Linked DNA regions of Homo sapiens: all the other regions are linked to region 3. The links are contacts of gene promoters, found by promoter capture Hi-C in blood cells and fetal thymus (Javierre and others, 2016). All regions are on one chromosome and are shown on one strand. The core of a region is centred on a gene start or on the middle of the fragment in contact, and the rest is flanking DNA. Distances in the headings are between cores, read along the strand shown.

Region 1 (3,103 bases), core at 163-2,662, 190 kb before region 3:
AGTCACTAGTTGCAGGTTTTTTAAAAGGTCCTTGAATTGGATTAAGAAAGTGCCCCTTGTACTCCTAGTTTGCAAGACTTTTGTTTATTGTTTTAATCTATCATGAACAGGTGATAAACTTTGTAAAATGCTTTATCTGCATCTATTGAGGAAAACATTTTTTTCCTGTTAGTCTGTTAATACAGTAAATAATGTTGCTTAATTTTCACGTTAAACCAACCTTTCTTCCTAGAATGAACTTCACTTGATCATGACATATTAATCTTTTAATATATTACATAATTCATTTCCTAATATTTTGTTAATAATTTTTTGTGTCTATATTCATGAAGGATCTAGATCTGTAGCTTTCTGGTAGTATCTTGCCTGGGTTTTGTGTAATAGTAATACAAATCTTATAAAATTAGTTTGGAAGTGTTACCTTATATATTCTGGAAGAGTTTGTAAAGAATTGGTATTATTCCTTCTTTAAAGTGTGATATAATATACTACTAATGCTATCTGGACTTGGATGTTTCTCTACTGGAAGATTTTAATCTAACAATTCACCTTCTTTAATAAGACCATTTAGGTTATCTATTTCTTCTTAATTTTAACTTTCAAGGAATTTGTCCATTTCATCTAAGTTATTGAATTTATTGATTTTCCATAAAATTTAGGATCTGTGTGATGTTCCTCCTTGCATTACTAATGATGGTAATTTATGTCTTCTTTCATTTTATTCCTGATTGGTCTTCAATTCTGTACTTGAATGTTTATAGAATTATTCACAATAGGAATAAAATAATTCAATAATAATCCAGGGATAAAATGAATTATTCTTTCTCTGAATTCCTGATTGGTCTGGCTTAAATGTTCTTCAGCTTTACTGCCAAAACATGGAATGCAGTGAAAGCCCTGCTAAGAGAGAAATGTATAGGTGTAAATGTTTCGCATGAGCTCCACGGATCGCTACACCTGCTCCTTTCCAGTTATTCTTTCTTCAGCCTTGGGTAATTTCTTGTCACACATGCACAGATGAGTATTCGCTCAGACTCTCAAGAGGTTCATTGAGTTTTGTGGAGATTTGTGGATCTCATCACTTCTGTCCTGATGCATCTCACTACTCTCTAGTAATTTTATCCACAAATTCTAGACACCTTGGCCTCCTTGTACTTCAAAATCTATCTCTTCAATGTAGTGTGATGCCACCTGCCCAAGATCTCAGTATGTCTGCCTTCCCTGTACCAAAACTGTCTCTAGGCAATAAGGTGGGAAGAGCTACAGAAGTCACTTTATTTCCCTTCTAAGATTAGTGTCCTATACTGGTTATTATCCAATGTCTATAAACAATTATTTTATTTTGTAGACTGCTTTTCTAGTTTGAAGCAGGAGTGTAAATTCAGTCCCTGGGACTCTGTCATGGCTAGAAGTAGGAGTCTACATTACTCCTATGTTCTTTAAAAATTAAAATACACACATATACACACATGACCTGAATCTTAGGGGAAGAAACACAGACTTCCAATTCCTGGGATAGTTGCCACACTGATTTTAAAAAATTGTACACTTTAAGGCTTTTGGTAACAATTACCAGTACATGGAGCTAATGTCTTTGGATAATTTTTCATTGATCTCTGTATTAAAAATGATTTTGTAAGTTTAACCTGAATTCTTAAGAGTATCTCAAACTCTCGCAAGCGGTATAATCAATTATAAAAAGTTTTTTCCTTTTAAAAAATTAATATACTGTTTGTGACCCCTTTATTAATATTTAAAGACAAAAATCTCCTTTTACCTTAAAAGAATAAAAATAAAAAAGAACCAGAACCTAAGTTTTACATTTTCAGGGTATAAACAAGCATTTGATAAACCTCTGTAATCCTATCACCCAAAGAAGACCACTTCAATTTTTAATAGAACATTGTCTTTTTTAGGCATAAATTTTTTTAAATGAAAAATGGGTGCATGCTGTTTTACTACCTATATTTTCACTTGTTAAATCATAATATTCTATTAAATATTTGTTCAGTCACTGTCAATGGTTATAGACTATACCACAGCAAACAATTCATTACTATTAAACATCTGGGTTGTTTCCAACTCTGTAGTAAAGACCTTACATACACTCTATTATTCCTTAGAACAAATTCCTGTAAGTGAAACGTGACATTATTTTTTGTCATTTTTCTCTTTTACTGTGGTAAAATATATAAAACGTAAGATTTGTCATCTTAACCGTTTTAAAATGTACAACTCAGTATCATTAATTATACTCACAATGTTGTGCAACCATTGTTACTATTTTCAAAACACTTTTATCACCACCAAGGAGAAACTACCCTTTAAGTAACCTCCCCCAACTTCTTTCTCCCACCCAACCCCCAGTAACCTTTCATATATTTCTTTACCTATTAATCTGCCTATTCAAGATATTTCATTTATGTGAGCTCATACAAAATTTGTCCCTTTATGTCAGGCTTACTGCACTTAACACAAAGTTTTCAAGGTTCATCCATGTTGTACCATGTATTAGATTTTCATTACATTTAATGGCTGAGTAACATTCAGTTGTATGTAGATACCACATTATGGTTTTCTATGCATCTTTTAATAGACACGGGTTGTTTCCACCTTTTGGATATTGTGAATAATCCTACTGTAAACATTCAAATACAAGTATCTATTACATTTAAGACTTTTTTTTTTAAACTGTTCCTTGCGTAGCAGGGCTACCTCATAGGCAGTGTGCCCACAGTAGCCACATTTAAGACTTTTGGTAACTATGGCCCAATTGCCTTTCAGCAAGAAAGTCACTAAAACTCATAGCCATATACATACATACATACACACATATATATATGTATACGAATGCTCATTTTATCATGATCTGCCATCTTAACAGATTTAAATGGCACTTAGATTTTTATTAGTAGTGATGGTAAACATTTTCCTTATGTTCCTTCTTCTAGGAACCACTAATTCTTATGCTTGGCCCACATTCCCCACTAGAGCGTTTCTTTACTGGTTTCTTAGACTATTTTATGTAATTAGATTAAGGGTACTTTATACAATTAGACTAAAAGCCCTTTTATTAATCACATAGTTTGTGGGTTTTTTGCTG
Region 2 (3,203 bases), core at 584-3,083, 210 kb before region 3:
TCCTACCTTGGCCCTTCCCAAAGTGCTGAAATTAAAGGTGTGAGCCACTACACCCAACTTCCAACTTCATTTCTTATCAAAACTGGACCAATGGCTTTGAAGCCTTAATGTCCTTAACTGCTATACTGAAAATAATTTTCAGAAACAGTACAACATTCTGGTACTGATACCACATCACCTAGAACAGAGTTACAGATGGGGTATTCAAGTTTTAAATAAACAATACATTTGAAAAATGGTGTAATTCCTGTCTAAGAACACTTAAATGCAGTAAGGTCACTGATCTCTCATTGAAATGGTTTTTTGCTCATTTCTCTCTCTACCCAGGTCCCTCTTCAAAGTTTTATTTTGTCACTCAACAGTGAGCAACAAGAGACTTCAGGAAAGTTACTTGATATCACTACATTTTTAAACTGGAAACAGCAATAAAAATACCTACCTCTCCTTCACAAAGCTGTGAAGTGAGGTGTGAAAGGCTAAGTGACAGAATATAAAAATCCACAAAGTACATTTATGTCCACTTATATACGTTATCTAAAAAATTTGAACTCACAGAAGTAGAGAATAAAATGGTGGTTACCAGGAGTTTGGTGGAGAGGGGGTTGGGGAGGTATCTGTCAAAGATAACAAAATTTCAGTTAGATAGGAAGAATAAGTTAAAGATATCTGTTGTACAACATGGTGAGTACAGTTAACGATACACTGTATTCTTAAAAATTGCTAAGAGAGTAGGTTTTAAGTGTTCTCATCACAAAAAACAGGTATGTGAGGTAATACATATGGTAATCATCTCAATTTAGCCATTTCACAATATATACAGTCGTCCCACAGTATCCAGAGGTTCCAAGGTTCCAAGATGCCTCAGCTACCAAAATCTATGGATGCTCCTGCAATCAGTCCTGTAGAACCCATCGATACAAAAAGTTGACTTGCAAATATATTTTCCACCCATGGTTAGTTGAATCTGTAGATACCGAGAGCCAACTGCACATATTTCAAAACATCATGTTGTACATGTTAAATACGTACAACTTTTAATATGTCAATTTAGAAAAGGGGAAAAAATACATGATTCTTTTTCCTGCCCCAAATGATGGTCCACACTGGCCCAGAGTTTACTACACCAGTTTTATAGCAATGTGTTTAGTAAATGCACTCTTCATTATAGTTTATAATATCCTATACTGGTATAGTACATTAAATATTTCACAATGCATTCACATTTGAAACATAATGAATTAGGTAACAAAATCATTATCATACGCTGATGCTAAAGATGGAGAGCCCTGAAGACCCTTGTGGACTCCTGTGGGTTCAGTTAACATTCTCATGCTGATTACCTTCCTAATCTATATATCTAGCTTCATTCTCTCTTGAGCTTGGCTCTATATTCATATATCCAGTTCCTTTCTGGACACCTCAAATTAGATCATCCACAAGCACCTCAAATCAAATGTTAAAAACAAACTATTATTTGTCCACTTTCAAACTTGATTCTCCTCTAGTATTCACTATCCAGAAGAACAGTACCATGACCTCTCATCTATTTTAGAAAGGAATCAGTCTCTTTAAGTTTGATCTTGCCATCATCTGCCCAACCCCTGCTATTCTTTGCCTTCTGCCAAACTGACTTGTAAATTGTAAATATGATCCTGTCACTATCTTACTAAAAATATCTTTGAGATATTCTTGATTTTTCTGATCGTTCTTATAAATCCCTTCATAATCTGGTCTCACTTTACCAATCCAGACTAATGTCTCACTATTCTCCATTACCTTTAAAACCTATGGTCCAGCCACACCAAATTATACATAAATCTCTTAAGCAATAGCAATAGGGCTATATACCTGCTATTCTCTGAACCTGCAACAACACTCTCTCTCTTCCAGGCCTTCCTCTGTTTAGCTTATTTTAATTATTCTTCAGGTCCTAATTCAGTTTTGGGAAATCAGATAAGACTTCTGGAGGAAAGAAGTCTTGGAGTAAAGAAGTCTTACCTGATTTCCCAAAAGTGAATTCAGAGTCCTAGACGTCCCCATGATGTCCTATATTTTCATCTATCAAGGTACTTACACTTTGTATTGTAAGTATCCATTTATGTGTCTGACTCTCTCTTAGGCTACGAACTAGTTACTCTTAGGCAATAACACATTTCTACTGCTTAACATTGTCCACTCTGCACAGGTAGGTGCTCAACAATAGTTTGTTGGATTGAATTTAGTTTACTGTTATATGGCTTCTAAGAAATTATTTGCTTATCTAATAATTTGCTAGTATATTTTAAAATCACAATTTCAACTGTTTAAATGGAAATTCCTTTCTTTTATTTCAGTCTTTTAATTTTTAAAAATAGCTTCTTCTTTAAAGTACTAGAATATTGAACATTAAAGAAGAGTTACATATCCTTTCTATTGAAACATTTCAAGGAGAGGATGAAAATCTGAAACTACTGACTATAACTGTGTTCAAAACATAAAAATAAAAAATAAAGTTTATCTTTAAAGTTACTCAATTTATGCCAAATATAAAATTTTATCTATCTAAAATATTTATCTACTTTGCACTCAGAATCTGACATACATATTACTGTATTTGAAAATCAGTCTTTTCTAAAAATTTGATTTGTCTTAAAAACCAAGTCATTTTCTACAAGAATAATTTCCACTTTGATCCCATAAAATCAGTGAGAAAAAGGGGTTTATATACTCATATGATATATTAAAATAGGATTTGATTCACTTTACAGACAACTTTTCTTCCAAGTGAGATATATCTATCATGTTTTGGTAGGCTTCTTATGGGGAAATTAGCTATTATAAATTATTCAATGGAACAAATGCTCTCCACCATTCTTCACTACTGACTTAAAAAAAAATTCAACACTGGATTCTATTCCACAGTGAATATATATGAAAAATACACAGTGGCCCTCACTGATCAATCATGGTAGAACCCTCATGACACAGCCATAGCCAACAAACAGTGCAAAACATTTACCACTTCTTTTTAGAACAAAAGGAAAAATGTGAAAATGGCAGGATTACTTGGGTTTTAACAGGAAAAAACTGTCTTGGCAAAAATAATTCATTATTATTCACCCTCTCTTAATACATGAAGATTAAAGGCCTCCCTCACTTCCAGGAAGTTTATTATAAATCAAATCATATTTAAAAACATTAAGAGTTAGTTCCCTTTTAAATAA
Region 3 (3,082 bases), core at 442-2,941:
AAACAAGCCCTCTAAATGGAAACAACAACAACAACAAAACACCAACACCCCCCGCCCCCAGCCCGGGGTGAAATGTCAATTCCGGGAGGGCTTTTGATCTCCAGGCGCGGACAGGCCGCTCCTCCCAGGCGCTGCCTCCCGGCGCGGGCGAGGCGGGAGGGCGGGAAGCCTGGGCTGGGGCTGGGCTGCGGAGGGAAAGAGTCGAGCACTCGGAGATGGCCAAAAATCAAATCTCGGGGTAGGGACACGGGCCCGCAGGCTGCAGGGAGGAGGCGGCGCTGGGGAACTGCGCAGACCACTTGGTGGGGGGGCCGCCCGGGAATCCACAGCCACATTTCCGATTGTGGCGAAATCTGCTCAGTGGATATGTGATGTCCAGTTGCCGCCGGGGGCCCCCCTTTCCTCGAGCTCTAGGCTCTTCCCCCTAGGTTGCGACCCAGCCTCGTGACCACCCCCTCCAAAAAACAAACAACACTCTTGCTGAGGACGATTCACTCTCCAAAACTGCCATTGTCCGGCGGGCCAGGAGTCCTCCTACGGAGCGCTCCCCCGCCCTGGAGAACCTTTCCCCTGCGACCACCCCGCTGCAGGGCCCCACAGGCTTTCAGTGGCTAGGCCCAGCAGCTGAACTAACTCAAGGCTGGGGAGGGGAACAGGGAGGGGAGGCTTGAGTCTGGCCCGAAGAGAGAGGGCTGGACATGCCACACCTCTGCTCGGTCTCTGTGGATCTGATTTCCTCTCTGGAATCAAGTCCTGGGGCTCTGGGACTCCACAACGTCTCAGGGCTCGAGGGCAATGCGATTCCACTTATGGGCCGGGGTAAGGTGTCTGGAACTCCCGCCAATCTCCAGAAACTACTGAGATGTTCTGCTCTGCCCGGGTGCTCCAAAGCGGAAGCCCGGATTTCATCTCCAGTATTTCACAGCTTAACCTCCATGCTCTGGGCCAGAATGGAACTTGATGTGGGGAGGGGTTCTGGGACTAGAAGACTGGATGGGACCTGGGGGCTTTAGGGATCTGGCGCTGCCCTAGGGTCAGGGGCCCAGCAATAGTCAGGACCCCAACAAATTGGGGTGGGGGTTGGATGGCTGGGAACCCTGGGGTCGGGCGCCGCCCTAGGGGTGAATCGGAGTAAACCGGAACGTCGCCTCGGTGCCTGGCAACACTGCCAGCCTTTGCAACCCCTTTCAAAAGCACCTGCTTGGCCGAGCAGTTAATTTCTTCAAAAACAAAAACCCGGCCTGCGCTCGTCTAAGCAGCGGGGTTTGCACATGGAGATGTCACAGGCCCCGCGCACAGCGCAGAGGGCCGCGACCCCCAAGCGCATGTCTTAATAGAAGGTGCGGCTGGAAGACCCGGGCTCCCGGGCTCCGCTTCGGTCTGCCCCTTCCCGTAGGTGCGCTGGCTAGCGCCCGGCGCAGGCTGAAGCCTTCCTTCCCTCCCCCCAACCCCTATAAAAGTCTGGGGCGGCGCGGCAGCAGCACTGCTGCTCTCCCGGCTTCCCGCTCTACTCCGGCCGGGCCGGGTCCGCCACGTCTGGCGCGCTGAGCAGGCCCGGCCGCGCAGCGCCTACCCTTTCCTCGCTCCGGGCCGGCAGTGTGGGGCGGCGCGCTGGGGGCGCGGCGTGTCTGGGGACATCTTGTGATGTTGGCGAGAACAGGACATGATCTCACATGGCGAGAAGCTCTTTAGTTCCTTAATCATTTCACGGTGCCTTCGGACGCTTTTTTTCCACCTAAAACGTTTAGTTTCAGCTCAGTGATCAGCTACCCCAGCTCGGCGGGGGAGCGGAAGGCTTGAATTATTCCGACCTGTGAGCGGCCCCTGGCACCAAAAAAAAAAAAAAAAAAAAAAAAAAAAGAAAAAAAAAGGCACAAAAAAGTGGAAACTTTTCCCTGTCCATTCCATCAAGTCCTGAAAAATCAAAATGGATTTAGAGAAAAATTATCCGACTCCTCGGACCAGCAGGACAGGTAGGACCGCGATACGGGCTCCAGATGTGCAAACTCCGGGACACGGCCAGGCCTTGGTCCCCACGCAGGGTGACCCTGGAGGAGGAGGGGGCGCGCCGCATTTTCGTAGAGACTGTCTAACTGCGGCGTGTTTGTTATGTTTTTTCACCTATCTGTTCACACACTTCTGCATCAGTCCAAATATCTGTGAGTTTGTCTGTGTTTTTCTCTGTTTCTGAATGTTCACGCTGGCGTCCTTCCGGGGGTCTGCAAGTTAGGGCCTGTGTGTTTATATAAGGGACTCAGTGTGTTCATTACAGTATATGTATTTTTAAAAGATGTAAAAATATATGAGTTTGTGTCCAAAAGTTGTTTGCCTGTGTGTGTGTGTGTGTGTGTGTGTGTGTATCTTTATACTCGTGGGGTATTCGTGTGTGTTTATAAGTTAGTACTTGTGTATATTCTTTTGGGTATCCAAAATGTGTGTCTACTATGAGTGTTATTTATGTAATTCGGAAATATCTGAGTGTACATCCACTATTTAAAGGGTCTGCATTCACCTGTTATATCCCAAGTGATTTTTGGATGTGAGAAAGAAGTGGCTACACTGACCTTTCCATTTTTGGATGTCAACGGCTGTCCGATGCATACACGCCAATGTTCACATTGTGTCTCTAGGCAAACTCCTAGACGTGGGTCTGGGGCCTATGGAGATCCGTGGTGTTTAGCATGTGCATTGTAAGGCCCAGTGTCCATTCTATTGGGAGATAGGACCAGGAATGAAGGTGTGAATTCAGGGCATGCAGCCTCTTGGTGTGCAGTGAGCACTGTTCAGGCTACCATTTGTACAAACAGGTCTCCTGTGGCAGGCACAACCTTGCAGATGACAGCGGACACCTGTAGGGTTAGTTGTGACATTTCTAGGGACCCCCAGCCTACATTCACTTTCACCTAGACAAGCCTCTGACACTGGCGTGTGTATTTGTGTGTACACACAGACACACACACACTGTGTCCTCAGGTTTTATCCTGTGGGTGCCGCACCAGTGGAGGAGAGCACAGTGGGTGGATGCATGTGCATAGTCTGGGCATTCAGCTCTAGGGCCTGTATGCGCACAGGCCTCCCTGGC
Region 4 (2,987 bases), core at 298-2,797, 230 kb before region 3:
CACACTCTTTCAAGCCACAATGGCCTACCTTCAGGACAGCAAGCAAATAATTCATCCCTTCTAGTAGATAGGGTGCACATGTTATTTCCTTGGATCAAAACACTCTTTGCCTCACCATTTCGACTAGTTAATTCTTTTGGATTTCAGCTTAAACGTCACCATAAAAGCCTTCCTTGGCCTCCATACTACGTTAGAATATTATACACTCTCATACTACTGTTTTATCTTTCCCTTATAGCAGTCTGGGTCACTTCTTATCCCTAACATAGCATACAGTAGTATTCAATACATTTGTTGAAAGACCACATGAATAGAGTAGTGAAGGTGATGGCACCCTATTCAGAATTAAATGCCAGAATTGACAACAATAAAGTTTCACAGCTGAGAACAGCATTAGCCCCTCGGAAAGAGTAGAAATTTTGCGGCCGGGCGCGGTGGCTCACGCCTGTAATCCCAGCACTTTGGGAGGCCGAGGTGGGCGGATCACAAGTTCAGGAGATCGAGACCATCCTGGCTAACACGGTGAAACCCCGTCTCTACTAAAAATACAAAAAATTAGCTGGGCATGGTGGCGGGCGCCTGTAGTCCCAGCTACTTGGGAGGCTGAGGCAGGAGAATGGTGTGAACTTGGGATGTGGAGCTTGAAGTGAGCCCAGATCGCGCCACTGCACTCCAGCCTGGGCAACAGAGCGAGACTCTGTCTCAAAAAAAAAAATAGAAATTTTGCTTATTTTTTTTTTTTTCTGTGAGGACAGGGCTCAAGAGTACATTCATGACTTTTGAAGTTTACTACTTTGTTTCTTTGCAAATAAACACCTGATAGGTCTGGAACTTCTGCAAACCTTATTGGCCAGGTAGAGAAATCTGGTAGTGAGTAAAATCTAATTATCTTATAATAGTAGTTGGTTTTGAGAGCACATTAGAGATACCAAGAGCTTTCACAAAAAATTCACACAGAATTTGTTTTGTATTAGGCTCTGTGTTAAGCACTGTGGGGAACAAAAAATCTGAAACACAGTCCCTGCTCTGAGGAACTTCCAATCAAGTTAGTGATGGTACTTGAATGGCATTATAAGAAATGCTAATAGGGCTTAGAGAAAGAGAATCTTGGGTTGATGTGATCACAGAGGAAATCTTCAACTTCAAGAAAATGCAGGCTGGGCCCAATGGCTCACACCTGTAATCTCAGGTCAAGGTGAGAGGATCCCTCGAGCCCAGGAGTTCAAGACCAGGCTGGGCAACATGGTGCGACCCTGTCTCTATAAAAAATGAAAAAATTAGGCCGGGCGCGGTGGCTCACGCCTGTAATCTCAGCACTCTGGGAGGCCGAGGCGGGTGGATCACAAGGTCAGGAGATCGAGACCATCCTGGCTAACACGGTGAAACCCCATCTCTACTAAAAATACAAAAAATTAGCCAGGCGTGGTGGCAGGCACCTGTAGTCCCAGCTACTCGGGAGGCTGAGGCAGGAGACTGGCGTGAAGCTGGGAGGCGGAGCTTGCAGTGAGCCGAGATCATGCCACGGCACTCCAGCCTGGGTGACAGAGCGAGACTCTGTCTCAAAAAAAAAAAAAAAAAAAAAGAAAAAATTAGCCGTGCATGGTAGTCCCAGCTACCCAGGAGGCTGAGGTGGGAGGATCACTTGAGCTTGGGAGGTCGAGGTCGAGGCTGAAGTGAGCTGTGATCATGCCACTTCATTCCAGGCTAAGAGACAGAGCAAGGCCCTGTTCTTCTCCCCTGTCTCCCCCCCACCACCAAATGGGAGACAGAGATGCAATTTCATTAATAGAAATCATAAATATAAAAAGAGAAGAACACTTTCAGCAAGAGGGAATGCTAAATACAAGCGACAGAGAATTCTGTTCTAGGGCTGAGTATACTGTTTTGGCTAGTAAACTAAGAAGATTCATCTCACCTTAATCCTTAGTTCTGTCTCTAAGGATCAAAACAGGTCATCAGAATAGAGAATCAAAGACTTTTTATATTATACTAATTATCTTAGCCAAGAAATGATGAGGATTAATAAACTTTGCAACCCATCTTCCAAAGCCTTTGAAACTGGGCCTGAATGGATAAATTAATTGTACAGGCATATCCCACAGACTGTATTCCGGATAGTATACCTCTCTCTCTCTCAATATAACATTTTTTTGACCATTTATACAGAAAAACTTAAATTTATTTCCCAAAAATTCAGTATGCATGGGAAAAGTCTCAAGTTATCTTCCAAATAACACTGGTATAACATATACATCACTGTTAGACTTTGTTTTTTGAGACAGAGTCTTGCTCCATTGCCCAGGCTGGAGTGCAGTGATGCAATCATTGCTCACTACAGCCTTGATCATCCCGGCTCAAGCTATCCTCCAACCTTAGCCCCCCAAGTAGCTAAGATTACAGGTGTGTACCACTATACCTGGTTAATTTTTCTGTTTTTTGTAGAGATGGAGTCTTGCTATATTGCCTAGGCTGGTCTCAAACTCCTGGGCTCAGGTGATCCTCCCACCTCAGCCTCCCAAAGTACTGGGATTACAAGCATGAGCCACCATGCCAAGCTGGTAGACATTTTTAAAACTGAGTCTAGTGCCAACATGCTTAGCATCATAAAGAGACAATTAAAAATTAATAACAGGAGTGTAAAGCTCTATTTTTATATATTTTTAAAGCTGTATTTTAAAATGTTTTACCCTAAAGCATTAACTACTTTCCCTGATGATTTATCAAATCCTGTCAAGAACTTTATAGCTCTTTACACATCCCTAAATTTAAAAAAACAAATAAATTTACAGTTGTACTATGAGCTCCTCTGAGTTTCATAGTTTTGTCTGTAATAGTTCATTCTTCCTTTGCCCATTTTGGCCATACCATCATTTCTTGATACCTAAGTGGCATGGTGTGCAGAATCTTCTTTAATATGGTAACTAAACTTTACATATTAAGCATTTGCATTTGGGAAGGTCATTCTGTTTTTTTGGATGAACTATATA

The links. Contacts are between HindIII fragments. The CHiCAGO score rates a contact against its expected background, and 5 or more counts as called.
Region 1: a contact is called between a fragment that was not itself captured here and the fragment with the promoter of PAX5 in region 3, in 2 of 17 cell types (total B cells and naive B cells). The highest score is 10.4, in total B cells.
Region 2: a contact is called between a fragment that was not itself captured here and the fragment with the promoter of PAX5 in region 3, in 3 of 17 cell types (naive B cells, total B cells and megakaryocytes). The highest score is 11.1, in naive B cells.
Region 4: a fragment that was not itself captured here is called in contact with the fragment with the promoter of PAX5 in region 3 in 5 of 17 cell types (naive B cells, total B cells, endothelial precursors and 2 more); the score reaches 17.3 in naive B cells.

What each region holds. Positions count from the first base shown.
Region 1 is chr9:37,222,740-37,225,842 of GRCh38, reverse strand. All of the region lies in intron 2 of ZCCHC7 (zinc finger CCHC-type containing 7), which reads right to left. Among named protein-coding and RNA genes, the nearest start is that of ZCCHC7, 100 kb to the right of the region's middle. The HindIII fragment of the contact is 4,326 bases long and covers 1-3,103 here.
Region 2 is chr9:37,244,481-37,247,683 of GRCh38, reverse strand. All of the region lies in intron 2 of ZCCHC7 (zinc finger CCHC-type containing 7), which reads right to left. Among named protein-coding and RNA genes, the nearest start is that of ZCCHC7, 130 kb to the right of the region's middle. The HindIII fragment of the contact is 6,079 bases long and covers 1-3,203 here.
Region 3 is chr9:37,032,877-37,035,958 of GRCh38, reverse strand. It overlaps PAX5 (paired box 5), which reads left to right and starts at 1,691. Exons shown (of 10, transcript NM_016734.3): 1 at 1,691-1,973. The coding sequence starts at 1,928. RefSeq lists silencers at 119-278, 1,359-1,538, 1,805-1,925, an enhancer at 979-1,028 and a promoter at 1,107-1,545. The HindIII fragment of the contact is 10,408 bases long and covers 1-3,082 here.
Region 4 is chr9:37,266,162-37,269,148 of GRCh38, reverse strand. All of the region lies in intron 2 of ZCCHC7 (zinc finger CCHC-type containing 7), which reads right to left. Among named protein-coding and RNA genes, the nearest start is that of LINC01627, 130 kb to the left of the region's middle. The HindIII fragment of the contact is 5,335 bases long and covers 1-2,987 here.